Regions from separate parts of the Homo sapiens genome. Here all the other regions are linked to region 3. Evidence: promoter capture Hi-C in 16 types of primary human blood cells and fetal thymus (Javierre and others, 2016). All regions are on one chromosome and are shown on one strand. Each heading gives the region's core, a stretch centred on a gene start or on the middle of the fragment in contact. The rest is flanking DNA. Distances are from core to core; before and after follow the strand shown. Region 1 holds the start of KRIT1 (KRIT1 ankyrin repeat containing). Region 2 holds the start of SDHAF3 (succinate dehydrogenase complex assembly factor 3). Region 3 holds the start of CASD1 (CAS1 domain sialic acid O acetyltransferase 1). Region 4 holds the start of LOC112267986 (a long non-coding RNA gene).

Region 1 (7,334 bases), core at 1,180-3,679, 2.3 Mb before region 3:
TGAGTTCCCTACTGCTGCAACTCTCAAGATAGACCATTTTCAAGAAAGGGTTTTGAATGTTATTTGAGAGGCGATAGAGTAATTTATCCTGTTTCTTCCACTGCAACTGAAAATGTCACTCTGTAACTTTTAATTCACTTCCCTAAATAATAATTAAAAAGTGCCTTATGATTGTAAAATTACCCTAAGAAGAAATTCTTTTAAAATACAGTAGCTTTTGGCATTTTACATAAACTTTAGCCTAAGATTAAAACAACCATTAAAATTATTGTACAAAAATTTTAAATAAAATAATTTAAATACTTTTCAAATTTATTTTAAATTCTAAAACTTTCCATTGATTTAGATCCAAAAAAACCCTACAGATATTTCACTAGAAAAAAATACAGTGACACATTAGGATAGAGACATTTCATTGTGTGAAAGGTTTTGAGGACGTTATCATTCTTTATCATTATATACTTCATGAAATTTTTTTCAGTTCAATTTTTTGTATAAAATCATTCTTAAAACCCACCTCATGCAACAGACCTTCCTACATCATGTGAAAAGGATGAGGCCTTTTTCTTCTCAGAATTTCTATTTAGCAATTACTTTTCACCACAGATTAACAATGACTTCAAGATAATAAACGTTTACAAATTATGAGACAGACGCATTGAAGACTGCAAGCCCCAAAAAGAAAGACATTGTATTGTGAATACACTGTATGATATATGGGCACAATTACAGAAACCATTTTATCTATTAAGGACCTAAAAGAAAAATCAAGTAACTCTTACTTTTCTAAAGACAATTTAAAGCAAATCAATTCCTGTCTTGGTCAACTCATGTTAAGAAAACATTTACTAGCAAAGTACTTTGTCAATACTCATCACTTCTCTAGAATATTTAATTAATACTGCACAGAAGCCTGAACTTTTAAAAGGTAAACAAATGTGATTTTAAAAAGACATAACTATGACAGTAACAGTATTTTGTTTTCTTAAACCAAATACTTTTTTACCATATCCCCAAAATATTCTTAAAATTCATTTTCAAGAACTATTCGTACTTGACTACTTAAAATCTACATTCTTCCAGTGACATGAAAGAAGGAAACAAAGGCTTAACAGGAAAATAACAAAAGTAACTAACATAGGAAGGTAAAACTGCTAAGGGAGAAACACAGACAAACTGATAGAAAATGAGTAGCTTGAACTAAAATACAAGAAAGGTATAACTAGAGTTTGCAATATGTTTAGACTGAGTCTGAGATGAGGGTTCAAGTGAATAAGTACAGGAAACGTGGCATTTTGTTATATGGCTCACTCCATTCTGGAAAATGTTAGGCACAAATGATAATATGCTCCCTAAGTAATAAGATCTTATAAATAAAGCAGTGGAAGTGGTCCTTAATTAGGGGGGTGGCACCTACCTGGGATCACTGGAAAATATGGAGGGCATTTCTGGTTGTCACTATGACTGATGAGGGGAGATGTACAACTGCCATTTAGTGTCCATGGAACAGGTTTGCTAACATCCTCTTAGTATGCTAGACAGCGTTTGCAAACAGAAACTGTAAAGGCACATATGCACTCCAGAAGGGTAAGAAAATAATGAGGCTGAGATCCTGAGTTGGACCACCGAGATGAAAGACTTCTGGTGAGGCTAAAAACATGTAGAAAAAGCGATGAAAGCCAAAAACCTTAAAAGGTGGAGAAAAGTGTAGAGGCGAGAAGTGAGTTACAGGGGGAGAAGTGAGTTAGAATGACAAGCTGTGAATCCCTTTCCCTGCAATGACAAAAATACGTAATCACTCTGCCTGGGAGGTTTTTTCCTGCGCCACCACCCGTCAACGTCCACTACTGGGGAAAAACGTAAGCCTCTTTGCTCAAAGAGTTTCCACCCAAAAAGTGGCTATGGTTTCTCTGTAACTACATGTGAAAAATAAACTCCTTGCCTGGGGCAACTAGATGTGGAGATGGTTCAGTCTCCCACCTCCGTTTTCCCTCGCTGGAGTCGAACTTGCTCCTCCTGTTTCCCGAAGGACACCGAGAGGTCCCACCCGTACGGGCTGCCGCGAGTGCCTCTCTGGCCGCTACATTCAACTAAATGGGTGGGACAGTCACCTGGCGAGGGGGGGCAGGGACCGTCACCGCTTTCTCATTCCTCCTTCCCTCCTCCCAGGCACAGCAGCCCGGCCCAGCTTCCTGTGGCAGAAAAACCCTCAGTCGCCAAAAGAAAGCCGTCTTGAGGGTTCCCCCGCGCTCCCACCCGCGCCCCAAAAGCTCAGGTCTCTGGAGTCGGAGACCCTCCTGCCCACCTGCTCTTTACTGTCCTTCCCTCTCCTCGCACCTCAGCACCATTCACCCCTCACCCTCTCCCGAAACTACGGGGTCCCAGGTCTTCAAAGGCCTTAGCTTTCCACCCCGCCGTTACCGTGGCTATGAAATCGCTTCCGGGTTCACACCCTTTGCAGCCTCGCGGTTGGCGGTGAAAGAGCTTCCGGGTCGGCGGCCGGGCTGCTGCCGTTCCTGCTCCTTTTCACTGGACCTGCAGTCTCTCAGGGGCTGGTGGCAGGCGACTAGGAGACTAGGGTGGTGGCGGTGGGGGTGCCAGCGGCTGAGCCGGAGCCGGAGCCGGAGGCGGGGGAGGGGAAGAGGGCGGCCGGGGCTGCGAGCGCGCAAGGCTGGAACATGAGCCGGGCTTGACCGCGAGGCGGAGGCAAGAGCCACCGCCCCCTCTTCCCCTCCCCCGAGTGAGGCGGCGCAGCGGCCGGAGAGGGATGGGGGGCGCCCACCCAGTCTGAGCCTCGCCGCGGGCGCCTTCGGCTCACGCAGCGCTTCCCGCGGGCCGCCAGTGCGCACCCTCGGCCACATCAGCCTCCGCCTGGCGGGTGCACCCGGGCCGGCGAGGAAGGGGCAACCGTCCGGGTGGGTGGGGCGGGCTGGGTACCTGAGGTCACCAGCTCGGCTGTAGAGGCAGGGGCGGCGGAGGCGGAACTGCGGAGTTGCTGGGTCCACCGACCCTTACCCTCAGCGAGAGAAGTAACCGTAAGTCTCAGCTTCGCGGTACAGATGTGTTTGAGGCTGCCTCTACCCATTTGTGGCTCCGAGTTCAGAGCTACCTACTTCACACCCTCCCGGATCTACTAGGAGTGTGTCTGTCGCCTGTTTTGGAGCATTGTTGTTCTGTCTGTCCCCATCCCTGAACAGGCAGCATTCTCTGCCCTACAGGGCTTTTCTCCCAGCGAATTTGCAAGCCTCCGGGTCTCCGTGACGCGTCCCATCCTCCCCATCTGGATGCATCTCCTTGTCCCTCTGTCCTCAAAGGATCTGTGTCCTTCCTCGCAGCCTCCCCCCCACCCCCATCCTTTGAGACGTGGAAAGCCACGGGTTCTGCCGACCTCGGGGGCTAGAGAGAGTCTTGAGAAGCGGATGGGTAAAAGTGCTCTGCAGGGCTGTGATGGGTGGGGATAGGTGCAGATGGCTCCAGTGAACCTTTATTTTTGCAGCTTCTGCCACCAAAACAAAAGAATGGAGCGCTCCCCTGTATTCTTATTCTTCTCCGTATGTATGAGCTGTTTTTCTGTACGTAGCTGTTTGAGTCGCAGGAAATTGAAACTAGAGCTGTAATAAAGCATCTCCTGAGGAGATTTTGAGAATTAGTCTCCCAAGCTCTATTCACACGGAATGGCATATCGAACAATCTTGTATTGGAATGACCATTTCAGAAGAGCTTTACTGGTAGATCTGACAGATAAATGTAAAGATAAGAGTCTGCTGTTTCAAATAGTGTATTTTAGATACCTTTAAATTTTAGTGTTCTAATTTTCATCTAGTTCTTAATTTGTGAAGTATGTGGGTATGTGTAAGGTGTAAAAATCTGTGTATTGGAAGGTTTTGCTTTGTTACAAGCTTTTGCTTTGTTGCTTTTGAGACAGACGTTTAAAGATCATATTAGATTGTATTTGATAATTATTTTCAATCATTAATTCCAGAGAAATCTTTTTTTGTATCAGCCACTCACAGATGTTACACACCTTGGTGCCTATGACCCTCCTGCTGCTTAAACTGTGAATGTCTTCAAAGTATATTTTCAGATTTTTGAACTAGGCGTTTTTTCTCATTAGAATTTGATTTGCTTTTCAAACTGCTCCTGCAGAACTTTCCAGAAATTAGATTTAAAAATAATTTTAATGCTGTCAGTGATTGGACAATAGCTCTTATATGACTTTATGCATTTGCTACTTTTCAGAGCACCATAGGAAGCAAACGATAATTTAAGAATAATTTTACTGTGTACTGCAGGTTGTCATTCTGCAAACTACTGTGTAGTGTAGACTGGTAGCTTTGGTGTTTTGTGTTGCTGAAAAACATTGTCATTTCATTAAGAAAGATGGATGTGTTTAATGACTTTTCCCCCCAACCTCCTTTCAGCAGTTGATTTTGGGCTATTATCTGATTTGTAACTTCTCACTGTTCACAGATTTTAATTTGAAGTAGGCTCAGGAGATGTAGCTCCAACTCTGTCTCTGGAAATGTACTTAGCACAGAAGCCAAGCACTGTGCAGAGTTGAGTGTATTATTAAGGGTGTGGCTTTTGCTTTCTGTAAAATTGTTCAGTTTCTGAATAAGAGTAGGGTGCTATAGTGAGGTGATGGGCGCTATCTTGGAGAAGTCTTAGAAAAAATGTTGTTGATTCTCTTTTCCTTGGGGTAGGATGGGGAAGATAGAACTATATTTTCCTATTTCACTGTTCCCTTGACCACTACACCGAGAATTTTGAGTTTTCAATATGTAAGGAGTCTGAAACTGTGCCAACTGTGCTGTAAACAAGGGCTCTAACAGGTAGGTGACTCCTGAAACATGGGAGGGAAGTTTTGTTAGCCACTCTTTTGTACTCCTGTGGCACTGCCCACTTCTCAAAGAGTGGGTTTTCTTTCCTCTTTCTTTTCTGGGGTATGCACTCAAACTTGTGAAAGTGAAATATGTGTATTTACAACTTGCTTGTAGATAAAAGTGCGAGCTCATTTTCATATATAAGTAGATGGAAGAACTATGAATTAAGTTAATCTGAATGTCCTTGAAATGAAGTTGGAAAAGATTCCTCAGTGCTTTGGGTAATTTTTCCCCCATTGAGGATGCATATGACATTTATTTAGATTAAGTTTTAAAATATTTCCTTCAAATATTTGACACATTTGCCAAAAAGGATTTGGGAGTGGACTAAGTCATTATTAAAGAGACCAGTCTGTGGGAGTTTTTATACATTGATCTAAAAATGTTTAGGTTTTTAATTTACTTTTCAAAGTGACTTCCTTAGGGGGAATGGTAATTTTTGGATTCTCAGTTTATTTTTCAGATAACCTCAGACTGCCTCTTTCTTTTCCAGATACTTTTTTTCTTTTTTCTTTTCTTTCTTTTTTTTTTTTTTTTTGAGATGGAGTCTCATTCTCTTGCCAAGGCTGGAGTGCAGTGGTGTGATCTTAGCTCAGTACAACCTCCGCCTCCTGGGGTCAAACGATTCTCCTGCGTCAGCCTCCCAAGTAGCTGGGACTACAGGTGCCCGCCACCACACCCGGCTAATTTTTGTATTTTTAGTAGAGACGAGGTTTTGCCACGTTGGCCAGGCTGGTCTCAAACTCCTGAACTCAGGTGATCCGCCTGCCTTGGCCTCCCAAAATGTTGGGATTATGGGTGTCAGCCACTGCGCCTGGCCTTCCAGATACTTTCATGTCCACTTCATTTCAGTAAACCTTTGTTGAGCATCTACTGTGTGTGCCAAGCACTTTTATTAGGTTCTGGAACTACCAGGGTAAATTAGTCAAGGTTCCTTTCCTCATTGAGGTTACCAGTCTAGATATTTGACTGTGATTTCTATTCACCTGCCTTTATTGGCTTCTCTTACAGGTTTTTAAGCCACTTGACCCTGTTGCAAGGTTGTTTCATATCCTGTGTATAAGAATAAGCGGCCGGGTGCTGTGGCTCACGCCTGTAATCCCAGCACTTTGGGAGGCCGAGGTGGACAGATCATGAGGTCAAGAGATCAAGACCAGCCTGGCCAACATGGTGAAACTCTGTCTCTACTAAAGATACAAAAAACTAGCTGGGTGTGGTGGCACGCCCCTGTAATCCCAGCTACTTGGGAGGTGGAGGCAGGAGAATCACTTTAACCTGGGAGGTGGAGGTTGCAGTGAGCTGAGATCGCACCATTGCACTCCAGCCTGGGTGACAGGGTGAGACTCTGTCTCAAAAAAAAAAAAGAATAAGCACAATAGATGCCATTTATTGAGTGCCTAATTTGTGCCAGTCACCATGCTAAGTGCTTTACATACGTTATCTCATTTAATCCTTAGAACAGTCCCAAAATATATTTTATCTCCATTTAAAGATCTCCCCCCCCACACGCGAATAAACTAAACTAAATTATTTTAATAATAAAAAGCCATACAGAATCTTGTGTATAGTATTACTGGATTTTTTTTTCTTGTAATATTCTCGAAAAGATTTGACTTACAGTCCTTAAAGGGGAGAAGCTGTCGTACAGTCATTAACAGTTTTTAATTCTCTAATATTGCTTTGAATAGAAAAATCCTAATTTCATAAGGTACTAGTATATCTTGTGTTCTAAAGCAGATAATTTGGCTGGGTGCAGTGGCTCACACCTGTAATCCCAGAACTTTGGGAGGCTGAGGCAGGCGGATCACCTGAGGTCAGGAGTTCGAGACCAGCCTGACCAACATAGAGAAACCCCATCTCTACTAAAAATGCAAAATTAGCCGAGCGTGGTGGCACATGCCTGTAATCCCAGCTACTCGGGAGGCTGAGGCAGGAGAATCGCCTGAACCCAGGAGGCAGAGGTTGCAGTGAGCCGAGATCACGCCATTGCACTCTAGCCTGGGCAACAAGAGCAAAACTCCGCCTAAAAATAAATAAATCAATAAAGCAGATAATTATATACTATCAAAAATAATTTTCAGTCATTGTTTAAACTTTTGAAAAGACATAATTCTAAAGTTCATTATGGTTAACTGTAACAGATCTTCAGGCATGTTTACCTTTTTTTCCCTCTAGTTCTACAACGGGACCACAAGCTTTTAAAATGTGCTAAAAATGTGTGTATTCTCCAGGAAGGGTAGAGTATTGAGCCATGTGAAATCTATTCAGCTTTTAAAATTTTTGAGTTTGATTTTGGCAACTAAGGGCCTTGGAGAGTTTTAGTTTCTGCAATGAAAATGTATTCTTTCAGATTTGAAAATTATCATGCTCATTATTGGTAGGATATATACTTTATCAGTAATTTGATATGATTCTGTCTAATACTTTTTCAGACACTCAGCATTTTTTAAA
Region 2 (7,462 bases), core at 2,041-4,540, 2.6 Mb after region 3:
CACATGAAGGAAGGATAAAGGAAAGGTCTGCATGAAGTGTAGTGATCTAGATTGGTGGCCAGAAATATAAGTGTGATTTTATTTTCAGTTCATGGCTATTTTTACCACAAGAGGAACACTGATCAGCCTAAATTGGTCAGGGAAACAGAGAAAAGTTTTGTCCTCAAAACATAGCTCACTGTCCAGCTTGTTGTAAAAAAAATAAAATAAAGGTTAACTGTCATTATTCTCACTGTTATTGCTTTATTCCACTTCTCAAGGCCTAACCACACCACTATGTCTTGGCTTCTCTTTCACCCATCGTCTGCCATTTTGAGCATTGATTCTCCAATGCTTTGTGGACCCTTTCTACTCTCTTTAGGCTCAATTAATTCCTTTATTTTTTAATTAATTCATTGGCAGAATGTTTTCTCACATTTTTATAAGAGTGTTGGCTCTTGAAAGAGGTATTTATTACACATGTTCTTTAACTCCAAAGGAAACCAGAAAAAAACAAACGGGGACAAGAAATCAATTTTCAATTTTACAGGGATATTAACAGATGAAGTATGGTTAGAAAAAAATTTCCTGAAGCAAAATAACCACGCTGCCATTCAATCCTTGCCATTAATGCAGTTTGTCATAATACCAAATTAAATCCATTTTTAAAAAGTTCTGTGTTTTTTAAAACACATATTTTCCCTAAATTTAAGCAAAAGGAGAAGCTCTATTCAAAGCAATAAATTCTACTTACTATTTGTATGGCACTGTGGTGGGCCCTGAAAAGGATACTAAAATGAGTAAGTACCTGCCTTCAGTAGCTGAGTGTGTCTTGTTTTTCTTTCAGAAAGTTTTTGCACAGAAAGAAGTCTGGGGTCTGTGAGACAATCACACAAATTTCAACATTTCTGCCTCTTCTTCACCAGCAGGAATATGAGGCATCTGACACCGTTAGTGAGTTTCACACATTAATTCAACAGATATTTATTGAGTGCTTACTACAGACCTAGTGCAGGTCACTAACAAATCACAAAATCCCTGCCCCTATAGAATTTGTACTCTAGTTGGGGGATAATAAATGGAGAATAAGCACATGAGTAAATTATGTAAGTAATATAGAGAGAAACAAAGCAGAGGAGGAGCATAAGAAATTCTTGGTTTGGTGAGGTTGCAACTTCAAGCAGGGTTTCAAATAGGGTTGCCAGGGAGGGTCTCATTAGAAGGGGACCTGAAGTATGCGCTGAGTGAAATAAAAGTGTTAGCCAGGAAGATACATTTGGCAAAGCACTCCAAGTAGACGGGACAGCAAGTGCCAAGGCCTCAGTTGGGAGTGTACCTGGCTTTTTAAAATATGAACTAAGAGCTAGGAGGCCAGTGTGGCTGCAACTGGCTAACTAGGGAGAAAGCAATAGGAGAAAATTTAAACCTTTAAGGGCTAGAGACTGGGCTTTACTCTGATGAAAATCCCTGGAGGCTTTTGTTGAGCAGAGGAGTGAAATGATCCGATTTACAGTTTAGATTGTTAAAAGAAAAACTTTAAACAAGTTAAATCTAATAAAGTTTATTTGCACGAGCGCACGTGCACACACACACACGATTTATGAGGCATTCATCAGGCAGCAGCACTTAACAGGGAGAGGTTCAGAGAGCTCTACCCAGCACTGTGGGCAGGCAGTATTTATAGACAGAAAAAGGAAGTGCCCCACAGAAACAGCTTGATTGCTTACAGTTGGGCTAGTCTTATTTGGGCAGGACATTATGACGTATTTGCCTTATATGCACATAGTCTGATCAGTTGGCAGCCTGTGATTGGCTGAAGCTCAGCTACTTGTCACAAGAATATACTCTCAGTTGCAGTTAATTTACATACTAAGTTAGGTTGCAGTTCCCTACATAGCAACTCAGAGTAGGGAGGAAATTTTAGGCCAAATTTAATTTAAATTATGTTGGAGCATGACCAAAGTTGGTCATGACCAGAAGCTGAACACAGATATGGAAGCTAACACAATATCCAGTGGAGAGAGATTGTGGTAGAGTACATGGGGCGAAATGGTTGATTTCTGCATTTTTGTTGGTGACGCCATCAGGATTTGCTGAAGAACCAAACGTGTGACAGGAAAGGACAACACAAGGAGCTGCCAGCTTTGGAAACCAGTTCTACTCTCAGTATTACCTTCGCAAAAGATAGAGCTTTGTAAATTTCTAGATTCCTCGTTCTTATTATCCTAGACTATTTAACCAGAATCTCCAGGGTCGTGGTCCTGGAAACAATACGTTTAAAACTCTTCCCAAGGATCCTTCAGCAGCCAACTTGACTTTGGCTAAGGAGTCCGCCAGCTCTGGGCTCACTTGGGTTGTTTGCAAGGAAGAGCCCATGCCCAGAGTATAAATTGGGAGAACAGCGCTGTGCAAAGAGCGTGGGTTGGTGAGCTAGTGGATGGCGAGATTAATCTCACTCTGATCCCTAAAGCAGGGTGCAGTAATACTCTAAATGCCTCAAATGGGTTGGGAACCATGGAAGGAATCCCGGAGGAGCCCGATCTTAACGAAGCTTTTCTCAGGCCTTTGGTAGGAGGACAGAAACGAAGTTGAATGAAAAAGACAGTGGAGTGGGACTGAGAAATGACAACGGCCCACCACAGACCTCTCTCTTTCAAGGCCTGTGTCGTCAGGACGCAGGCCAGAAGAAGCCACGACGAGGCGCAGGCGCGACTCCACGAGGGCCACGCCCCTCCTAGAGAAGGACCGACCCGTTTTCCGCCCGCAGCGGAGCTTGGGTTTCCGGGAGGACCTGATTGTGCAAGGGACCAAACCGGATAGAGGTCGCGCGCCCTCTTTCGTCTGCCTTCCGGTTCACTAATACGCAAGTTCGCAGAAGTGCGGGAACGCGCCGTCCCTCTGCGCAGGCGCAGTCGGCGGTCGGCGTGGGGCGCTATGCCGGGGCGGCACGTTTCTCGAGTCCGGGCATTGTACAAGCGCGTCTTGCAGCTGCACCGTGTTCTGCCCCCGGACCTCAAATCCCTGGGCGACCAGTACGTGAAAGACGAATTTAGGAGACATAAGACCGTTGGTTCTGACGAGGCACAGCGTTTCTTGCAAGAATGGGAGGCAAGTGACGCTCCCTTCTCTTTGCCCAAGACCTTTGGGGTTCCTCGGTGTCCAGGTTTCTAGTTCCAGTCCCCCATGCGGGGTTAAACAGAGCAGCAACCTGTTCTGTTTGAAATAGCGTAATGCTGTTCAGGTAACACTTTCCAAAGTTTCTCCCACGGGTTTCTCACTAGAGCAGATCCTGTTACTTCAGCGTCCCCAATTCAGTTCAACTTTTGAGCTCCTGCAGATGCCAGGTGCTCAAAGGGTGAGGGTAGGAGGTCACAAAAATGAGCAAGTCGTCGTTAAGTGCTCAAAAACCTCAGGAGCTTTTTGTCCTTTTAAGTGCCTTTGCACCTAGTAAGCGCCCATTAATAAATTAATGGTTCTCTTATTAGTTTTCAAATTTAAAGGCTTATTTCCGTAATTTATTATTTAATCTCAGCGCTTTTGGTTGGGTTTAAATAATTTTCTCACTTGGCTGATACAGAAATCAGGTAACATGAAAAAGATTACAAAAGGTTGGAGATTACAAACTGTGAAGGAGAAAAATGCTGGTGGCAGTTAAGTCAGGCGAAAGTTGTTTCCTCCGGTCTCAAGTCATTGTTACTTCGCCCTGCACCATTGCGCTAAATATTAAACAGACACATGCATTAGCAATAAGTCGTTTGACTTTTTTTTTTTTTTTTTGAGTAAAGGAAAAAAGATATTCAGAGTATTTCGTGGGGCTCGGGGCCCTGCAGGATTGCCCCTAGTTTTCATTTGCAAATATAAATAAATGAATGGAATTAGAGATTGGAATGACAGCTCAGATATTTGAAAGCATGAGTTGGAGCTGATATGAAAATAGAGGTAAGCGGTTCTTCGGCCTAAATAGTTGAAGGGGAGATGACTGAAGTCGGCTTTGTAAAAAAAAATCAAAAGAATGGTTAGGGTGAACACAAACTTTGCACTGACTTCCAGAATTCTTTTTTGTATAATTATTGAAGCTTTTAAGAGCGACATTTAGAACAATCGGGAAATTTAGAACTTTCTTGAAAATCATGGTGTATTTGATGTAATTCGCTTGCCTGAAGCAGGGAAGTTGAAGCTTTTCAGACACAGAGCACTTTATTTTAATAAGGTAATTTGGTTTTGGAGCCTGAAGAACTGGATTCAGATTCAGTCTCTGACATTTTAAGTGTCAGATCACATAATTTTTCTAGTCTTATTTTCTCATCTATAAAATAATAAGTGTTTATGCATCTCAAAATTTACGTATGTAAATGTATTTACAAGCACTTGTGTATTGCTAATTGTTATGAAGCTATAAGATACTGTATTAAAGTATTTTACATCTTTTATGGTAGGTCATTTTGTGGCCGTACAGGAAGGAGAGTAGCTCTCTGTTGGGAGGAAATAAGGTTATTTTAAGAAGTCTTAAAATGTAAGCACATGGAAGCCTCTTTGGGAAAAAGTAGGAAAGAGTAGCAACTCAGAAAAAATTGATAATAGGTTGTAGGAGAGAGAGAGGGTATAAAAAAGAACTGCATAAATAAAAAATGTGTTAGTTGACCTAGTAGGCTTGGTAACTGGGATTGAGCTTTTTAAAACTTGGAATAATTTTAGACATACAGAAGAGTTAGAAAGACAGTAGAGAGTTCCCTACATCCTGTTTCCCCCTGTGTTAGCATCTTACATAATCAGGGTACAGTGATCAAAAACAAGAAATTAACATTGCTACAATGCTGTTAACTACAGACTTTATTTACAATTTGCCAGCCCTTTCACTAATGTCCTTATTCTGTTCCAGGATCCAATGGGGATTCTACAATGCATTTAGTTATTCTTTTTCCTTAATCTCCATTCTGTGACAGTTGCTCCGTCTTCCTATCTTTCATTACCTTGATACTTTTTTGAAAAGTACTAGTCTGTTACTTTGTGGAATGTATCTCAATTTGAGTTTGTCTGATGTTTTCTCATGGTTAAATTGATGTTATGCATTTCATAACATCTCAGTAAGAATACCACATGGGCAAAGTGTTCGCCTCAACACTTAATGTCAGAGGGCACATGATACTAACATGACTTCTTACTGGTGATGATAACTGTGATCACTTGGTTAAAGTAATAATCCACGTGGTGTCTCTACTGTAAACTTACTATTTTCTCTTTTGAAATTAATACATATTTGGGGGTAGGTACTCTCAGGCTTTCAGATGATTACTAGTCTTAGCATTCATTGATGGATTTTGCCATTGTGTTCCAATGGTGGCTCTTTTGTTTCCCTCATTCCTTCTGAATTTATTAGTTGACACGCGTCTGTAGAGAACAGTTTTCCTGTCTTCCCCGACCATTGTTGATCTACTGGAATTAATGAATTGGCAGCTGGGTAAAGATAAATTTAAACGTAGTAATCTCTTTGTATAACATAATTATCACAGTTACAAGGCAGCTTAATCTAAGCCTGGGAGTTAGACGTGGTAGGTTGGATCCTACCAGGAAAGATACTTGAAGAACTGGTCTTTTTGAAAGAGTAGGGCTAGAGAAGATGCTAATGATTGGAGGGGAGAAAAACCTGGCTAGAGAAGTTTTATCACCAGAGAGTAATATACTTAAGACTTCCAAGTCTTTTTCCCCCCCACCTGTTCTTCAAAATATCTAATTTATGATTATGTTATACTAGATACTGCTAGACATGACATGGATTTTTATGCCTTTATTTTTCAGTTAGTGCTCATTACAAACTTGGCACCTGTTGTTTGAATATAACTTAATGGTTACGTTTACATCAAACTAAGAGTAACTGTTGTGGACTTCTAACTTAATATGTAGAGTCTGGTCTACACGATCCCAGTCCCTCACACACATCTAAACTTAATTATGGACTTGAATGGATTCTGAATTTGTTTTACATCAGGGGCAACGTTGGGTATAGTTGCCACTGGAGAAAAGAAAGGGATCAAGAACACTAGAGGCCCCATATTTGGAAGAGAGTTCTCTAATTCTCTTCATTTGTGATCCTGGAAAACTGGCAATATAATAGTAGAGAGAATTCAGCTGGGGGAAGTTTTTGTTCAGGGACCAAGTGGGGCAACGTGGAAGGAAAGTATTTTAAGTATAGAAATGTAAAAGCATGTTTACAGAGTAAATAGTGAATTTATGTAATTTCTCACCATAAGAGAAAAAATTTAAGTTCAGGAAGAGTTTTTGGGAATCTATGAAGGGAGAATGTACGATAACTGGTTTGTAAAATGTGCATTGTAATCTCAACTCTTAGGAGGTAACTATTAGAAGTGAAATTGAGACTCCATAGATCGGGGGTCTTACTACGGCATTTTAAAAGTTCTGACTGTGCTCATTTTTGAGGAATAGTTGTTTAAGGCTTTCTATTTTTCTCTCTGTGCCTACCACTTATTTTCTAGGAAATCAGAATAAGCATTGAAGATTAAATAGATAAAACATGTTGGTGAGAGAATATGAGACAAAGAGCACAGAAGAGTGTGCTCTCAGGAGCTACCTGAAGAGACTTCATTTATTTTTCTTTTTCTGTCCCATGTATTTTTCTGAGTTGTCTCTTGCCTAGTTCCTGTTGTTTTTCTTAAGTACCTGTTCTGTGTCTGTTGTGGAATATTTTTTAACTGTTTTGTTTCTAGAAAAAGGCAGAAACATTTTTCAGATAGTTTTGATCACTTACTATTTCCAGACAATGTGCTAGGCATTTAAGACACAAAAATGAATAATAAATGTATTTTACTTTCACAGTGTTCAAAGTTTAGTAGAAAAGGATAGACAATTGTAATATAGTATGAAAGAGTGTCTATTAAATGCTGTGGGATCAAGGAGTAATGGAGGAAGTTGAAAGCTACACAAGATGGTTAAGTCTTGAGTAGGTCAAATTTACCATATCAAAAAGAGAACCTTCTAGAAAGAGGGAATAACATATGCAGAGGCATCGAGGTAAGAAACAGTATGAGGTTTTTTGGTTTTTTTTTTTTGTTTTTTTTTTTTTTGTTTTTGAGATGGAGTCTTCGCTCTATCGCCCAGGCTGGAGTGCAGTGGCGTGATCTCAGCTTACTGCAAACTCCGCCTCCCAGGTTCATGCCATTCTCCTGCCTCAGCCTCCTGAGTAGCTGGGACTACAGGCGCCCACCACTGCGCCCAGCTAATTTTTTGTATTTTTAGTAGAGATGGGGTTTCACTGTGTTAGCCAGGATGGTATTGATCTCCCGACCTTATGATCCGCCCACCTGGGCCTCCCAAATGCTGGGATTACAGGCGTGAGCCACCGCGCCCGGCCGAAACAGTATGACTTTTTTCCAGGAACTGCAGTGTTGTGTTTGGAATTTAGTGTTTTACGCAGAAGATGAGGAAGAAATAAAGCTAAAGAGGTGGCAGGAGACAGGATATTCTGCTA
Region 3 (6,877 bases), core at 3,759-6,258:
TAGTTTCTAACTGTCTTGCTAATGTTGATGGCTTTGTATCAGTAGTAATTCTCAAAGTACTGTACATTTACAGCAAGGTCCATAAATTCTTATTTCAAACAGTTTTGGAAATTTTACTTTTTTCTGATATCTTACAGATTTAAGTGGCCATGATATATATCATACATATGATATATATATATACACATACATACATACTTTTTTTTAACCATATAATGTAACTAATAAAGAGTTGAGTTTTTTGGTTTTTGTTTTTTTTTCTGAGACAGGGTCTCACTCTGTCACCCAGGCTGAAGTGCAGTGGTGTGATCTTGGCTCACTGCAGCCTTGACCTCCTGTGCTCAGGTGATCCTGCTACCTCAGCCTTCTGAGTAGCTGGGACTACAGGCATGCACCACTACACCTGGCTAATTTTTATCTTTTTTGTAGAGACAGCATTTCACTATGTTGCCCAGGCTGTCTTGAACTCTTGAGCTCAAGCACTCTGCCCACCTTGGTCTCCCAAAATGCTGGGATTACAGGCATGAGCCAGCATGCCCAGCATAAAGGGTTTTTGTGTTTTTTTTTTTTTTTTTTTTTTTTTTTGAGATGGAGTCTCACTCTGTCACCCAGGCTGGAGTACAGTGGCATGATCTCAGCTCACTGCAACCTCTGCCTCCCAGGTTCAAGCGATTCTCATGACTGAGCCTCCCGAGTAGCCGGGACTACAGGTGCAGGCCACCATGGGTGACTAATTTTTGTATTTTTAGTACAGAAGGGGTTTCACCATGTTGGCCAGACTGGTCTTGAACTCCTGACCTCAAGTGATTCACCCATCTTGGCCTCCCAAAGAGCTGGGATTACAGGCTTGCACACCTGGCCAAAACCCTATACTTTAGATGAGTAGAAGGCAGAGTAGAAAGAAGATGAGTCAAAGATTAGCAGAAATGACTTGAAGGATAGTGTGCCAATGAACTAAAGGGAAAATTAAAAGGATAAACAAGGTTTAGAAGGAAAATAAAACTTGTTTTCCAACATATTGAGTCTGAGGTACTATGCGAGTCATTGAAGCTGTCCCTTAGGTATATGAAAATGAGAGGACCATGAGAAGCCAGGTTGCACGTGTGGATCAGGAGTGATAGTTGAGGCCAACTTACAATTTAGGTTTGCTAAGAAGAGAAGTAGGCAAATGAGAAACCTGAAAAGCGCTTTTAAAAAGGGGCTTTGAGAAAGGAAGAGGAATCTTCGGAGATGCATGAGAAAGGTAAGAGGAGAGATTTGAATAAAGCAAATATTTCAAGAAAGCTGCACAGCCAAGAAGGATAAAGCTAAGATAAATATGTTGAATTTGGTAATTTAGGATGTGGCCCTCATTTGAAAGAGTGGTTTAAGTAAGTAAAGTAGTAGGGACATAAGTTAGTTTTCATGTAAAGAACTGAAAAATAGTAAAAACAATTTTTTTAATGGGGAAAGTAACCACAAACTGTTCCTTCAGAAGTTTGGTGGTGAAAAAAGAGAGATTGTGTGGTGCATTAAGGAAGATAGGATGAATTTGGCAAACAATGAAGAGAGATAAATTAAAGGTAGAAATAAGGAAGGGGAACTTAGGAGACCAGATTCTCAATGAAATGATATTGGTATAATCATACACACAGGTGAGAGTGACAGTTTTGGGAAAGGGGAGGAGGAATTTTTCTTTGAATCAGAAGGGAAAAGATAAAGTGTAGCAGTTTGTTTTAGAGTAATACATAGGGCCGGCTTTGTGGCTCATGCCTGTAATCCCAGCACTTTGGGAGGCCGAGGCGTGTGGATCACCTAAGGTCAGGAGTTGGAGGCCAGCCTGGCCAGCACGGTAAAACCCCGTCTCTACTAAACATACAAAAATTAGCCAGGCGTGGTGGTGCACACCTGTAGTCCCAGCTACTCGGGAGACAGGCAGGAGAATCATTTGAACCTGGGAGGCAGAGGTTGCAGTGAGCCAAGATCACACCACTGCACTCTAGCTTGGGCGACAGAGTGAGACTCCATCTCAAAAAATAAAAATAAAAATAAAAATAATGCATAGGTTGAGAGAGTTTCTGTCAGATGGTTTCTGTCTCTCTCTTTTTAAAATATTATTAAGGTGTGAGGTAACATGCTGAGCATTAGTAAACATTCTGGATAGCTCAGGGGTCAGGAAATAAACGTGGAGCCACTAACTAGTTTTTAGCAGGAAATGACATTACGAGATTTTAATTTAAGAAAGTTCTGTCTGGTAAGAGGTATGGCAGAATGGCAGTAGGGTTGGATTTTCGAGTGACCTGAGAAAGACGAGTAAAAGGATAAGAAATGCAGGCAAGAAATCATCCCTTAACCAAGGTAACAGCAAGTGGATAGAGAGGGGGCAACACAGTTGAGAGTTATTTAGAAGAAAGCAAGGATGACTCAAACACTTGCTTGGACGGCTGGGTTAATGATGAAAACTTAGGCATAAAGGTTGAAAGTAGATAAAGGAGAAGGAAGGTGATGAGTTTGTTTAGGAAATGATATATATTAGGTACCTGAAGGATATCCTAGTAGGCAGATGGTTCTTACAGCATGAGGATAGATAAATATGGACTGACATATCAGGTGTGTGTGTGTGTGTGTGCGCGCGCGTGTGTATAAGGAAGGTGATCCCATGGCAGTGGTGGGACCACTAAATAATGACTAAGTGATCCTAAGGTCACTTAAAAACAGCAAGAAGTGGCTGAAAACAAAGTCTCCGCTCTGTTTTAGATGGATACCAAATAAGGAAGAATGGTCAACAATGTCAGGTGCCACAAAATGGTCCAGGAAGATAAGGAATATAAAGTGTCCCTTGGATTTAACAAGTAGTCATACCACACAGCCTTGGTGAAGAACAATGAAATGGCTGAAGAGAGAATGCTAATTGAGCCAGTGAAGGCAGAGAGTCAACACTGCTCTTTCTAGATGTTTGCCAGAGGAGGAAAGAGTTGATGAGGTAAACATGCAGGAACAGAGTCCATGGGTGTTTTTCATTAAAAAAAAATTTTTTTTGGAGGAAGGCAAACAGCAAGGTGATAGGGAGAATTGGAAGACACAGAAAAAGAATGATTTGCATGGGGATAACTGATGGAGGAATCAACACCCTCAAGAAAGGAGGATAAGAAAAGATTCAGAGCAGAGGTAGAGAGATTGGCCTTAAACTTGAGAGAAGAAAAAGGAGGTTCACAAGCTATTTACAGTATTTAAGAAAGCCTTCTGGAAATTGCAATTAATAGAATGTCAAGTTTCTTTACTTTTTGCAGGCATTAACTCAACCCTTTGGGTTAACACTGGTTATTGCATGCTGATCAGAAATTCTAATTTGCTGGTAATGACATCATAGAAATGTCTAGGATGTGATTGGCAGACCATATATTGTTGGCAGAGTTATCTGGTTTTTACAATACCCAATTCTTACAACATGTGATCAACCTCTGATCAGAATGACAGCCAAAATTAAAAGACTATTTGCAGGGAACAGTGCCTAAGTGTTTGTACACTTATTTAACTTTATTGCTTATTAGCATTACATCCATGACAGTGATGTATGTGATTTCATTTAAGTGACAAAATCTTTCAAGATATAAAGTCCATGGATGAAAACATAATAAAGAGTCCTTGGATGAAGAGAATGGGAATGAGTAGACAAGATCTCTACAGTCCCTTCATATCTAATATTCTATAATTTTAAGAGGGGCCTATAAGCACAAGTTCAGGAATGGCTAAATGGGAAAGTTGTAAAGAATACTTGACAACACCCCAACTAAACAATGACTCACTCTAAACAAGGCAAGGCAAGTAGAATGGCAAGCAATGTAAATAACCATTCCCATCTGGAAGGCAACAAGAAAAACCATTTAAAAAAGGTGGGGTGGGAGCGAGAGGAGAGTAGGGATAACAATGCTTTATTAAGGAAATGGAGTGCTGGCTTTATTGAGAATCACAAAACATTAACCAACGTTAGTAGCGGGGATGATTGTCATAAGCACATTAAGAAAAATTTTTTTTGGCTAGGCTTGGTGGCTCATGCCTGTAATCCCAGCACTTTGGGAGGCCGAGATGGGCAGATCATTTGAGGTCAGGAGTTCGAGACCAGCCTGACCAAAATGGTGAAACCCCCGTCTCTATTAAAATACAAAAATTAAACGGGTGTGGTGGCGGGCGCCTGCAATCTCTGCTACTCGGCAGGCTCAGGCAGGACAACCATTTGAACCCAGGAGGGGGAGGCTGCAGTGAGCGAAGATCACGCCACTGCACTAGAGCTTGGGCGACAGGGTGAGACTCCCTCTCAAAAAAAACGAATTTTTTTGGCACATCGACCTAGCCAAACTTGCGTAAATACAAGTGAGAGTCAGACTCTTTTCTCATCAACACCTACACTAAGTTAGGCTCCTTCTGTACCTTCCATTCGGAACTTTGGTGTACTTTCGCCCACCAGAACTGGGCAAACTGAGGACATTAAAAAAACGGTTTAAGAGAAACTGGCCAGAGCGGTGAGTTAAGTGTTAAGACTGGTTTCACTCCTGGGTTGGATGCCAGCAATCCATCGGCCAGCACCATCAACTGGATCCATCAATCCAATCTGGCCAGCACCCAGGGGCAGCCAGACTGACCAGCCAGGCCACGGATAGCCAGACAATAAACGACCTTAGGGTGTCCTTCGCATCCCGCTGGGCGGGTTCTGGCAGTAGAAGGCTGAGAAAGGGGAGTGTTGGGGAAGGAAGGAATGGGACGATGTGTACTTTTCTCCCGGAACTGTAGTTCTATTGCCCCAACCTGGGCTCAGGTAGCGGCCAGTAAACTAGGAGACAGCCCTAAGGCTCGCGTCCGGGCCAGGCGGGTACCCCTAGTACTCTCTCCCCACACCCCCATGGCTCTGCCGCAGCCGCCGCCGCCCGCCGGGGCGCGTGACCCGGTGACCCCGGAGCACTGGGCATCCGGACCCCCCTCGCAGGCGCAGCCGCTATTAAGGCAGGAGGCTAAAGAGGAGGAGGAAGGGGAGGAGACAGGCGTCCAGGGCGCCTGGGGAACCGGCACGGCGGAGCAGCGGCGGCGGGGCTGGGGGGAGGCCGCCGAGTCGGCCGCGGCCGAGGAGGGGCAGGCGGAGGTCGGGGGCGCCGCGGCCGCGGGGTCAGGTTCCCCGGCGGGAGGCGCAGGTGGCGGCCTGGGGAGCTGGCGGCCGCTCCTCGCCTGGCTGCAGCGGCGGCAGCCCCAGTGCTGCCCCTGTGCGGCGCCCCTTTCCCGCTCCGCCGCGCACTGTTGTCATGGAGGAACCAAGATGGCGGCTCTGGCCTACAACCTGGGCAAGCGGGAGATCAACCACTACTTCAGCGTGAGGAGCGCCAAGGTGCTGGCGCTGGTGGCCGTGCTGCTGCTCGCAGCGTGCCACCTCGCCTCCCGCCGCTACCGAGGTGAGCGGGCCCTCCCCTCTGCCCGGGCAGGCCGTGGGGGAGGCGGCGACGCGGCGGCTGGAGGCCGCCCCCATCGCCCAACACACGCCCACGCGGCCTTCCGCCGGCCCGGCCCGCGGGGGAGGCGGTTCCCCCAGGTGTCCCCAGCAGCGGCCGGCGCCCGAGGCCAACTGAGTGGACCCCAGTGGGGGCCACCAAAGGACAATGGCTGGTGGTTCTGGGCGCCCCGAGCCGCCCGCGCTGGGGTCGGGGGCGCCAACCCTGGACCTGGCCAAAAGTGCTGCTGAGGTCCGGCTCCTGAGCGGTCTGGGTTCGGGGAGACGCTCCAGATCAGGGGCTCGCGTGCAGGAAGTCGGACAGGCGGTCCTTGGGGGCAGCCCGGGGCGCATGAAGCCCAAGGCCGCCCTGCAAGGGGCACCGCTGCCAGCAGTGGGGTCGCAGGTCCTGCCTCTTAAGGGTCCGGCTCCTTAGCCTTTGTTTAATTTTGCCTCTGCCCTGTAACACCCAGTCTGGGCTGTTGGACAGCGGCAAGGGCCGCCCCCATTTTCCTTTGCCAAAAGGGCGACAGCTGGCAAAAGATGCCTGTGGCCAAATGGAAGAGGTGCCACCCAGCTTTTGTGATGCAGAAACGTTTAAAGGCTTCGGAGTGCACACTTTTTACAAAGTTAAGGCACCAGAGCAGATTTTTGGAAGGAAGTTGTGGGTTGACAGGCGTAAAGGTGGGCAGTTGAAAGCAAGTTGTAAGCACTTTGAAAGCAGGCCTTGGCCATGGGTTTTGAAATTGGTGTAAAGGGGAAAAGGAAATATGACCTGATTTGAGAATGAATTATCTTTCAGTAATCAAGGGATATTTACTTCTCCTTGCTGATTGATTGTTTTTTTTCCTTTGTAAAAATGTCACTGGGAGAGAGGCTGACAGGCAGAGGGAAATTAATAATGATAGGATCTTTTATTTTTGGCTCTTAATACTATCAAAGCCATTATCTGGCCAGCTCTTGGTGACTGTGAGATTAATCAGTCAAGATGTAATGTGTAATGGACAGGTGCAAATTAGCGCTGTGCCCGTTTAAATTTACACCTACTTTGGCAAAATATCCATAAACGGGTTGTTGGAGTCTGCGCTGTATTCTCATCCCAGGAGATCTTTCAATTTTGGTCAGTTTTGCTGCTTTATTTCTTCCAACTCTTGAGAATTAAAAATATTGTACTCTAGAGCCATACTGGGTGAACAGCTTTTAGTATACTAAATTGATTTTAAAAATTAGATTCTTTATAACCTTTTGGCCTCTCTCCAGCTCTCTCCAGATCACAGCCATACGACCTTGCAAGGCCTTGGTTTATCTACAATCATGTAAAACTAGCAATGTTGATGCATTGATTTGTGGTGGTTTTGAGGAAATATTTCTTTTAACTACTATTAATCATTTTATGCCAATTTGGTATAAAAGAACAGTAATTTA
Region 4 (7,575 bases), core at 4,538-7,037, 2.6 Mb before region 3:
TCTCAAACCTCTGATCCCAAACATCCTTGCCCATTCCTGTCTCCCTACCTTTGCTTAAGCTGTTCTTTCTTTTAGAAAGGCCCATCCTCCTGATGCCTATCCATAGGACAAGGTCCCATTCAAATATAATCTTCCCTCAAATCCTTAACTTACTTTAAAATACTAACCACTGAAATCAACCATTTGTTTTATGATAATTTATTACTAAGGAATCTAAAACTAAGCTTTCTATTTATAGAAAACAAGAGCTGAAATGGACTTACAACTGGCAACTGAAATTTGGTCTTGATTACAATACTAAAATGCAATAAATTTACTCTAAAAATGACATCTAAAAATGACATGTGTGGTCTCAGCTAAACCTAGAAATTTGGTCTTGATTACAATACTAAAATGCAGTAAATTTACTCTAAAAATGACATGTGTGGTCTCAGCTAAACTTAGAAACAGTAATTAATAATATTGACTGTTAATGAACATATGAGGAAACAGAGGAAATTCTCAAATATTGTTAATGGACCAGAATTTGGCACCAGCTGCCACAATTTTAAATGTTCATAGCCTTTAATTCAGCATTTCCACTTCTTGGAGATTATCCAAAGGGGGAAAAAAGGGCCAGGGGCAGCGGCTCACACCTGTAATGCCAGCATTTTGGAAAGCCAAGGTGGGAGGATTGCTTAAACCCAGGAGTTTGAGACCAGCCTGGACAACAAAGTGAGACCCTTATTCTACAAAAAATCAAAACATTAGCCAACTGTAACAGCACACACCTATAGTCCCAGCTGCTCAGAAGGCTGAGGTAGGAGGACTGCTTGAGCCCAGGAGATCCAGACTGCAGTGAGCCATAATCTAGCCACTGCACCCCAGCCTGGATGACAGAGTGAGCCCATCTCAAAAAGAAAAAAAGACAATATGTGTTTGTTATGAAAAAGGATGACTAGGCCAAGCACAGTGGCTTCACACCTATAATCTCACCACTTTGAGATGTTGGCCAGGAGTTTGAGATCAGCCTGGCCAACATGACGAAACCCCATCTCTACTAAAAATACTAAAATTAGCCAGGCATGGTGATATATGTCTCTAATCCCAGCTACTCAGGTGGCTAAGGCACAATAACTGCTTAAACCTGGGAGGCGGAGGTTGTAGTGAGCTGAGATTGCACCACTGCACTCCAGTCTGGGCAACAGAGCAAGAATCTGTCTCATAAAAAAAGAAAATAGAAGAAAAAGAAAGAAAGAAAAAGGATGACCATCATAACATTATTTGCTATAACAAAGAAGAAGAAACCCAAATGGCCACCAATAGAATAATTAATAAATTGTGGTACATCTATGCAATATACTATAAAGGTGCCAAAAATAAAGGCCGATCTACTGCAATCAAAAGATGTCAGATATTCTACATGACAAACTGCTTAACAGTATGGATAATGCCATGTATATTAAAGGCGGGGAGGGGGACGTTAATATATACAGAGGGGGAAAGTGGAATGACACTTATTTCTGAAAGATTATTAGAGGCTATGTACTACTTCTGAAATACTGGGACTTTATTTAATGAATATGTGTTACTTTGCAGTCAGATGAAAAAATTTAAACAAGTAAAACTGGCCTTTGGTGTGAAAAACAATGGAAAATACAAATTATCTTTATCTATTTTTCGGTTTCTAGTACCAAAAAAGTCACACTTCAAAATTCTCCATGATGCTTTACTCTTAGCAACGGATCTCCATTCAAAATACTCATAATATCTAGTAGGGTAAATGAACATCTAAATAGCCTAATACAAGAAAGTTAGCAACTTTCCTCACGTACAAATTTCAAAAATGGTACCTATTCAAAAATTGACTTCGATCTATTTCTCAAATTGACTTTTTAATTAACCAAAACCATTATCCAAAGGGCTAATGTTCAAACTTAACAAACACTGAAAATTTCTATGCTTGTAGTATGAGGGGTCTAAAAAAAGATTTACGTTCGCCTCTGCCCCACAACTGGCCTGTTAAAAAGGCTGTTAATGGAAATAACTAATCACTGGCCCTAAAATACCACATTCCAGCTGGTCTTCTTTTGATACAGCAAGCTAAGTTTGGAGATCTTTACATGCATTTCTCACCTTGTTTGTCCTAAGGAAAGGCTCTGCATCCCTCCAGAAAGGCTGGAGAACAGCTATCTCTGGAAATGACACACACACACAAAAAAAAGGCAAAATATTTCAGGCCTTCCTAATACAAAATAAGAGATCGATCCCAGCTAACGTTCTCGTTGCATTATGTTCTCGTGAGATGCATTACCTCTTGCAAACAACATTTCTCAGACATACAGAAAAGAAAACGGCAAGTACATGCCTACATATGATGGGAAAAGGTAGCGGAATCACGAATACGTTTTGTACCAAAGCTAAGTGCTTCATATATATTGTCTCGCTTTACTCCCCACAACAATTTAAAAGGTAGGCATAAGCCTTAAAATTACAAAATCTGAAACAGCGCCGAGCTCCCATACTAGCCTGCCTTCGCTAGCTGAAGCATTAGGGTTCGAACCCAGGTGGGTCTTTCTTAACTCAAAACCAAGGTAATTCCACACCGAAGGCTCTTTCCATCCCTCTTCCTCCTCCAAAGACAAATCTGCAAAGGGCTGCACTGTACAGCAGTCACCCACACCCACTTCTTAACAAAAAGAAAGGAAAGCACAGCCTCACCACCTTCCCAATCTCACCCTGAACTGCACCCATCCACTGTAGTTCGCTTTTACTTCCGCCTCTGGGGTCCGGAGCGGCTAGGAGGAGCGGAAGTGGAAAAGACTAACTTCCGGCCTCGGGTCGCGCGCAGAGGTGATGTCGTTGGTCCTGCGCCCCCTCGTGGCGGTACTTCAGCCCTTCGCAGCCCGACGCTAGGGGCCTGGCAGGGGGCAGCAAGAGACCGCGGTGAGCGCGGGGTATTGAACGCCAAAGAAGGGGTTTGGAGGGTGGGGTGGGGCCTGGGACTCCCAGTCGCCTGGGCAGATGTCCGTGGGGAACTGTAAGGCATCTTATAGGGATCCTACAGGGGGCATCCACTGCCGGCCGACGACACGTGGTGGAAAAGTAGCTATTATTTACATGCGTGTTGCAGTTTTTGATAATGCGATTGCTGCTGCTAATGTGACTAACGCGATGCCGATGAACATCTCGGCGTTTTTTGGTGCAGGATAAGCGGGTGTAGACTCTGTCTGTTTAGTCCCAGATTCTCCTCCTTTAATGAACTACCGTGGAAATCCTGGAGTGTCACTGCTGGTCTGAATTCAGCATCCGCCTTCAGGCTGGAAATCAATTCTAGTATACTTCGATTTCCTTACTTGCAGTTCGAATTCAAATATGATTCTTTTGACATTGTGAGGGTTTGCGCTATTTAAAGAATGGAGGCAACCGAAACCTCATCTCCACAGTGGATGCATTTTTGCTCCCTCCCGAGGCGTTGCCTTAAGCCACGCGGTCCTGTCAGCCTCACCTGCCTAGTGATGGTGACAATGGAAGAGATAAAGCTTCAATTCAAGGCACTTCTCCTGTGACCATCAAAAGAAAGATAATATCTACATTAATGAATTAATTGTGTCTGTCGAGTTATCCTCAGGAGACGATGGTGATTTGGTCCTTAAAAAAACACAGGATCAACAGGATTGACCCTGAATTCTACAAAGAGGAAAAATTTCAGGCATTACTAACTCCTCCATGTACAAGCCTAATGATGTAATTTTCTGGCCGGGCGCGATGGCTCATGCCTGTAATCCCAGCACTTTGGGAGGCCAAGGCGGGAGGATGGCTTGAGGCCAGGAGTTCGAGACCAGCCTGGCCAACATGGTGAAACCCCATCTCTACAAAAAGTACAAACATTAGCCAGGCGTGGTCACAGGTGCCTGTAGTCCCAGCTACTTGGGAGGCTAAGGTGGGAGAATCACCTGAGCCTGGGAGGTTGAGGCTGCAGTGAGCCGTGATTGTGCCACTACACTCTAGCCTGGGTGACACAGTGAACCTTGTCTCAAGAAAGAAAAAGAATTTTCTTTATCCCATTTCTTTCTCCTTTTTCTTTTTTTTTTTTTTTTTTCCTTTAGACGGAGTCTCACTCTGTTGCCAGGCTGGAGTGCAATGGCGCGATCTCGGCTCACTACAACCTCTGCCTCCCGGGTTCAAGCGATTCCCCTGCCTCAGCCTCCCGAGTAGCTGGGAGTACAGGCGCGTGCCACCATGCCCGGCAATTTTTTTGTTTTGTTTTTTGTTTTTTTGTTTTTTTGTATTTTAGTAGATACGGGGTTTCACCATGTTGGCCAGGATGGTCTCGATCTCCTGACCTCATGATCCACCCACCTCGGCCTCCCAAAGTGTTGGGATTACAGGCGTGAGCTACCGCACCCGGCGTGTTTATCCCATTTCTATGCCAATGAACCAATTACGTTTTACCATCACTCTTCCCCTTTGACTACTCCTAGTTGGGTTGTTGTTGTCACTTTGTTTTTAATTAACTCTCTGTTTTGTTGGTTTAGAAGGATAAAGATTTATCTTTGGGAATTTAAAATACTAATAATCAGTCTATCTATTAAGTAAACTACTTACTGCAATTCCTCCAGGTAAAAATTAGTCCCAAAAAATTGGAGATGGCTTTTAAAATGTGAATTTCTAAAATCTATATTCCTTCTGCATGGAAGGAGCTCCTATGTCTGAATTAATATTATTATATATTATGTATATACACACACACAAACTGCTTTACAATCGGCATGTAAAATAAAATTTAGAGATTAAATTAAATAAAATAACCTTTGAGATTATTGAGCCCCAGCCCTCTCATTTTACAAATGAGAACACTGAAACCCATACAGTAGGAACTAGCAAGAGAATGCATGTCTTATATTTTCTTTACCAGTAACTCTAAGATTTATACCACATACTTTGTTGTATTGATTTAGCTATCAATAATTATTTCAGACTTACTTAGGTAACATCACCTATGTTGGTTTTTAGTGATATTTTGTCGGTAAAGGCAGATTGGTTCTTTTGAAAATAAGTTCCATATTTCCCATCAGAAATTTTCTGATTATAAATCTATTTTAATTGCATATTATAAAATACTGAAAGTATAACAATAGAAGTGTAATAATGGTTGGGTTAGGATGTTGTATAATTAATTAGGTTTCTTTCTTATTGTATTTCTTCAGTGATTTTTGAAATGTCATTACCTCCAGTAAGAGAAATGACTACTGCCTCATCGTCCTTTATGATGTTTTACAATAGGACCTGTATATACTTTGCCTGTATTTCATTTGTTTATTCAATGAACATTTTTTCAGCACCTTCACATTCCAGGCCCTGTTTTCAAGTTAGGGGACATAGTGGAAACCAAGACAAAGCCCCTGCCTTCCTGGACCTTATTTCTAGTGGCAGGTCTTACTCTCAGCCTGAATGTCTTCTCCTCTACATGCCTCTTCCATCTCCTTCCCCAGGACCATAGCAGACCCATGTCCCTACCAAGTTGATGTAATTAAGAAAAATAAAGTGGCTGAGTGTAGTGATTCACACCTGTAATCCCAACACGTTGGACTTAGATACTCAGAAGCTGGGCTGAAAGTCAAGTCTGAAGACAGAATCTGTGCTGTATTCAGAAGTGCCTCTGCCTTTTATAATTAAGAATTTTTTGACTGTGCCAAATGTGCCTGTTCCTCTGCCCTGGAAGTGTCCTTCTTGCTTTATGCAAATAGATTTCTGGCAAACCACAGCCCCTCAATTGACCATTCATTCATGTTTGAATCTCAGCAAGCCCAATTAAGGTCAAAAAGAAAGTGGCCCTTCATTCCTCCCACTCTTACCTTCAGTTGATACAACACCCGCAGACTCCTGGATTCAGTAGACAAATGCCTGCCCCACCCCCACATCAACTTCACAGACAGACCTGCTAGCTTCCTATGTGACTTACTTGAGGGCCCTCAGAGGACCATCAGGTCTCTACCCAGGACTCCCTTATTCCATTCTCTTGCCTGCAGCTGTTTTGGTTGCCAAAAGCATAAAATGTCTCCCAGTTGTTCAAGGCTAATTAAAGTGGTAGATAAAGTTACCCAGAGAGTCTCAGGTTAACACTTTGTTGGCAAAAAATAAAAAAGATTGCTTAATTTCCCCCCTTTTCACAATTGCTTTTTAACAATTTAAGATTTCTAAAGATTTTACTTCAGGCAACTTTATTTCTCTGAAGTGTGCCTAAAGACTTCCTGAGTCAGCTTTCATGCTCCCACACTCATTACCACAAGGGTCTGTGGCAAAGAACTGGATACTTAGCCTAGCAAATTTGCTGATTCCAGACCTGATATGACAGCAATTCCCATGGTAGTTGGATCAGCCTGACAGAGTTGGCCAAGAGAAACACAATAATCATTTGAGATGCTATTTAGCCTGGTGAGTTTAAGTACCTTTTGGATTGTTTGATCCTACTGTACCAAACCTTCAATTAATTACCGTGAAATGATTCTTAGTCATTGGTAGAAAAATTAGTCTCAACAGAGAGGAGGGGAGCAAACATTCACAAGATGAAATACTATTTTCACTGTCGAAAACTATTTTCCTTTCTATTTAAGGCGTTTCTTGAAATTCCTCCTTTAGAGATTTAGTCCTTGGTATAAACTGTGCTGATTTAAAATTGCAAATGTATTTGAAAGGGAAAGCATATTAAGCCAAAGGTCAGCAACCTTTTCCTATAAAGGACCAAATAGTATTTCAGGCTTTGTGGGTCACATACTGTCTCTGTTGCAAATTCTCTTTTTTCTTTCCATATTTCACAACCCATTAAAAGTATAAAAACCATTCTTAGCTTGGGGGCTGCTGGGCCACGGGCCATAGTGTGCTAAGACCTGCATTAAAAACGATAGTGAACTACTCACATATAACTAACTTCATTTGTTGATTACTATATTAAAGACATCCAAAAACTAGGAATTTTAAGAGAAAGTACATGGAGAGAAAAATAATATTTGAAAACATTTATGTAATGCTATCTGCCATGCACAATTCTAATCATTTCACCTCTATTAACTCATTTTGTTGTATAATGGAAGTAATATTATCTCCATTTTACAAATGGGGAAACTGAGATAGAGACTATGTAGCTTCCCCAAGCTCACGCAGGTAGTAAGTAAGGGAGCCAGCATTGCAACCTAAGAAGTCAGGCTCCAGCGTCTATGACTGTATTCACAATGCTATGCTGACACTCGGGGAGACATAATACTTTAATTTACGTTAGAAAATACAAATAAAGAAGAAAGGAGCAAAAAAATAATAATTTCACTTATAATTCCATCACCTAGAAATAACCACTATTTATATTTTATTTATATTATTTTGGTTTCTATCCTTCCAGAACATATGAAAGAATATAAAGCAAAAGAATATAAATAAAATATGTAAACTAAGTATTTTAGGCATTGTGGGTGACATATTGTGTAGCTGTAACTGAAGCTAAGTTACAGTTATATGTGAGTAGCTCATTATAGTTTAATGGAGGTCTTAGCAGACTATGGCCTATATACATATACCCATAGAGTATATTGAATATTTTTA

What was found. Contacts are between HindIII fragments. The CHiCAGO score rates a contact against its expected background, and 5 or more counts as called.
Region 1: a contact is called between the fragment with the promoter of KRIT1 here and the fragment with the promoter of CASD1 in region 3, in 1 of 17 cell types (naive CD8 T cells). The highest score is 5.1, in naive CD8 T cells.
Region 2: a fragment that was not itself captured here is called in contact with the fragment with the promoter of CASD1 in region 3 in 3 of 17 cell types (total CD4 T cells, non-activated CD4 T cells and total CD8 T cells); the score reaches 6.5 in total CD4 T cells.
Region 4: a contact is called between a fragment that was not itself captured here and the fragment with the promoter of CASD1 in region 3, in 1 of 17 cell types (naive CD8 T cells). The highest score is 8.2, in naive CD8 T cells.

Annotation. Positions count from the first base shown.
Region 1 is chr7:92,243,485-92,250,818 of GRCh38, forward strand. It overlaps KRIT1 (KRIT1 ankyrin repeat containing), which reads right to left and starts at 2,430. Exons shown (of 19, transcript NM_194454.3): 1 at 2,306-2,430; 2 at 1,418-1,687; 3 at 518-665. It overlaps ANKIB1 (ankyrin repeat and IBR domain containing 1), which reads left to right and starts at 2,490. Exons shown (of 20, transcript NM_019004.2): 1 at 2,490-3,035. RefSeq lists an enhancer at 2,311-2,605 and a silencer at 2,536-2,925. The HindIII fragment of the contact is 4,029 bases long and covers 1-3,897 here.
Region 2 is chr7:97,114,811-97,122,272 of GRCh38, forward strand. It overlaps SDHAF3 (succinate dehydrogenase complex assembly factor 3), which reads left to right and starts at 2,888. Exons shown (of 2, transcript NM_020186.3): 1 at 2,888-3,087. The coding sequence starts at 2,914. RefSeq lists enhancers at 2,546-2,625, 2,976-3,065. The HindIII fragment of the contact is 1,525 bases long and covers 2,529-4,053 here.
Region 3 is chr7:94,504,801-94,511,677 of GRCh38, forward strand. It overlaps CASD1 (CAS1 domain sialic acid O acetyltransferase 1), which reads left to right and starts at 5,009. Exons shown (of 18, transcript NM_022900.5): 1 at 5,009-5,417. The coding sequence starts at 5,285. RefSeq lists enhancers at 4,294-5,282, 5,283-6,269 and silencers at 4,803-5,022, 5,063-5,212, 5,313-5,672. The HindIII fragment of the contact is 8,005 bases long and covers 1-6,877 here.
Region 4 is chr7:91,877,940-91,885,514 of GRCh38, forward strand. It overlaps LOC112267986 (a long non-coding RNA gene), which reads left to right and starts at 2,863. Exons shown (of 2, transcript XR_002956514.2): 1 at 2,863-2,925. MTERF1 (mitochondrial transcription termination factor 1) reads right to left here and starts at 2,763. Exons shown (of 3, transcript NM_006980.5): 1 at 2,718-2,763; 2 at 2,116-2,174. The coding sequence starts at 2,144. The HindIII fragment of the contact is 4,536 bases long and covers 3,520-7,575 here.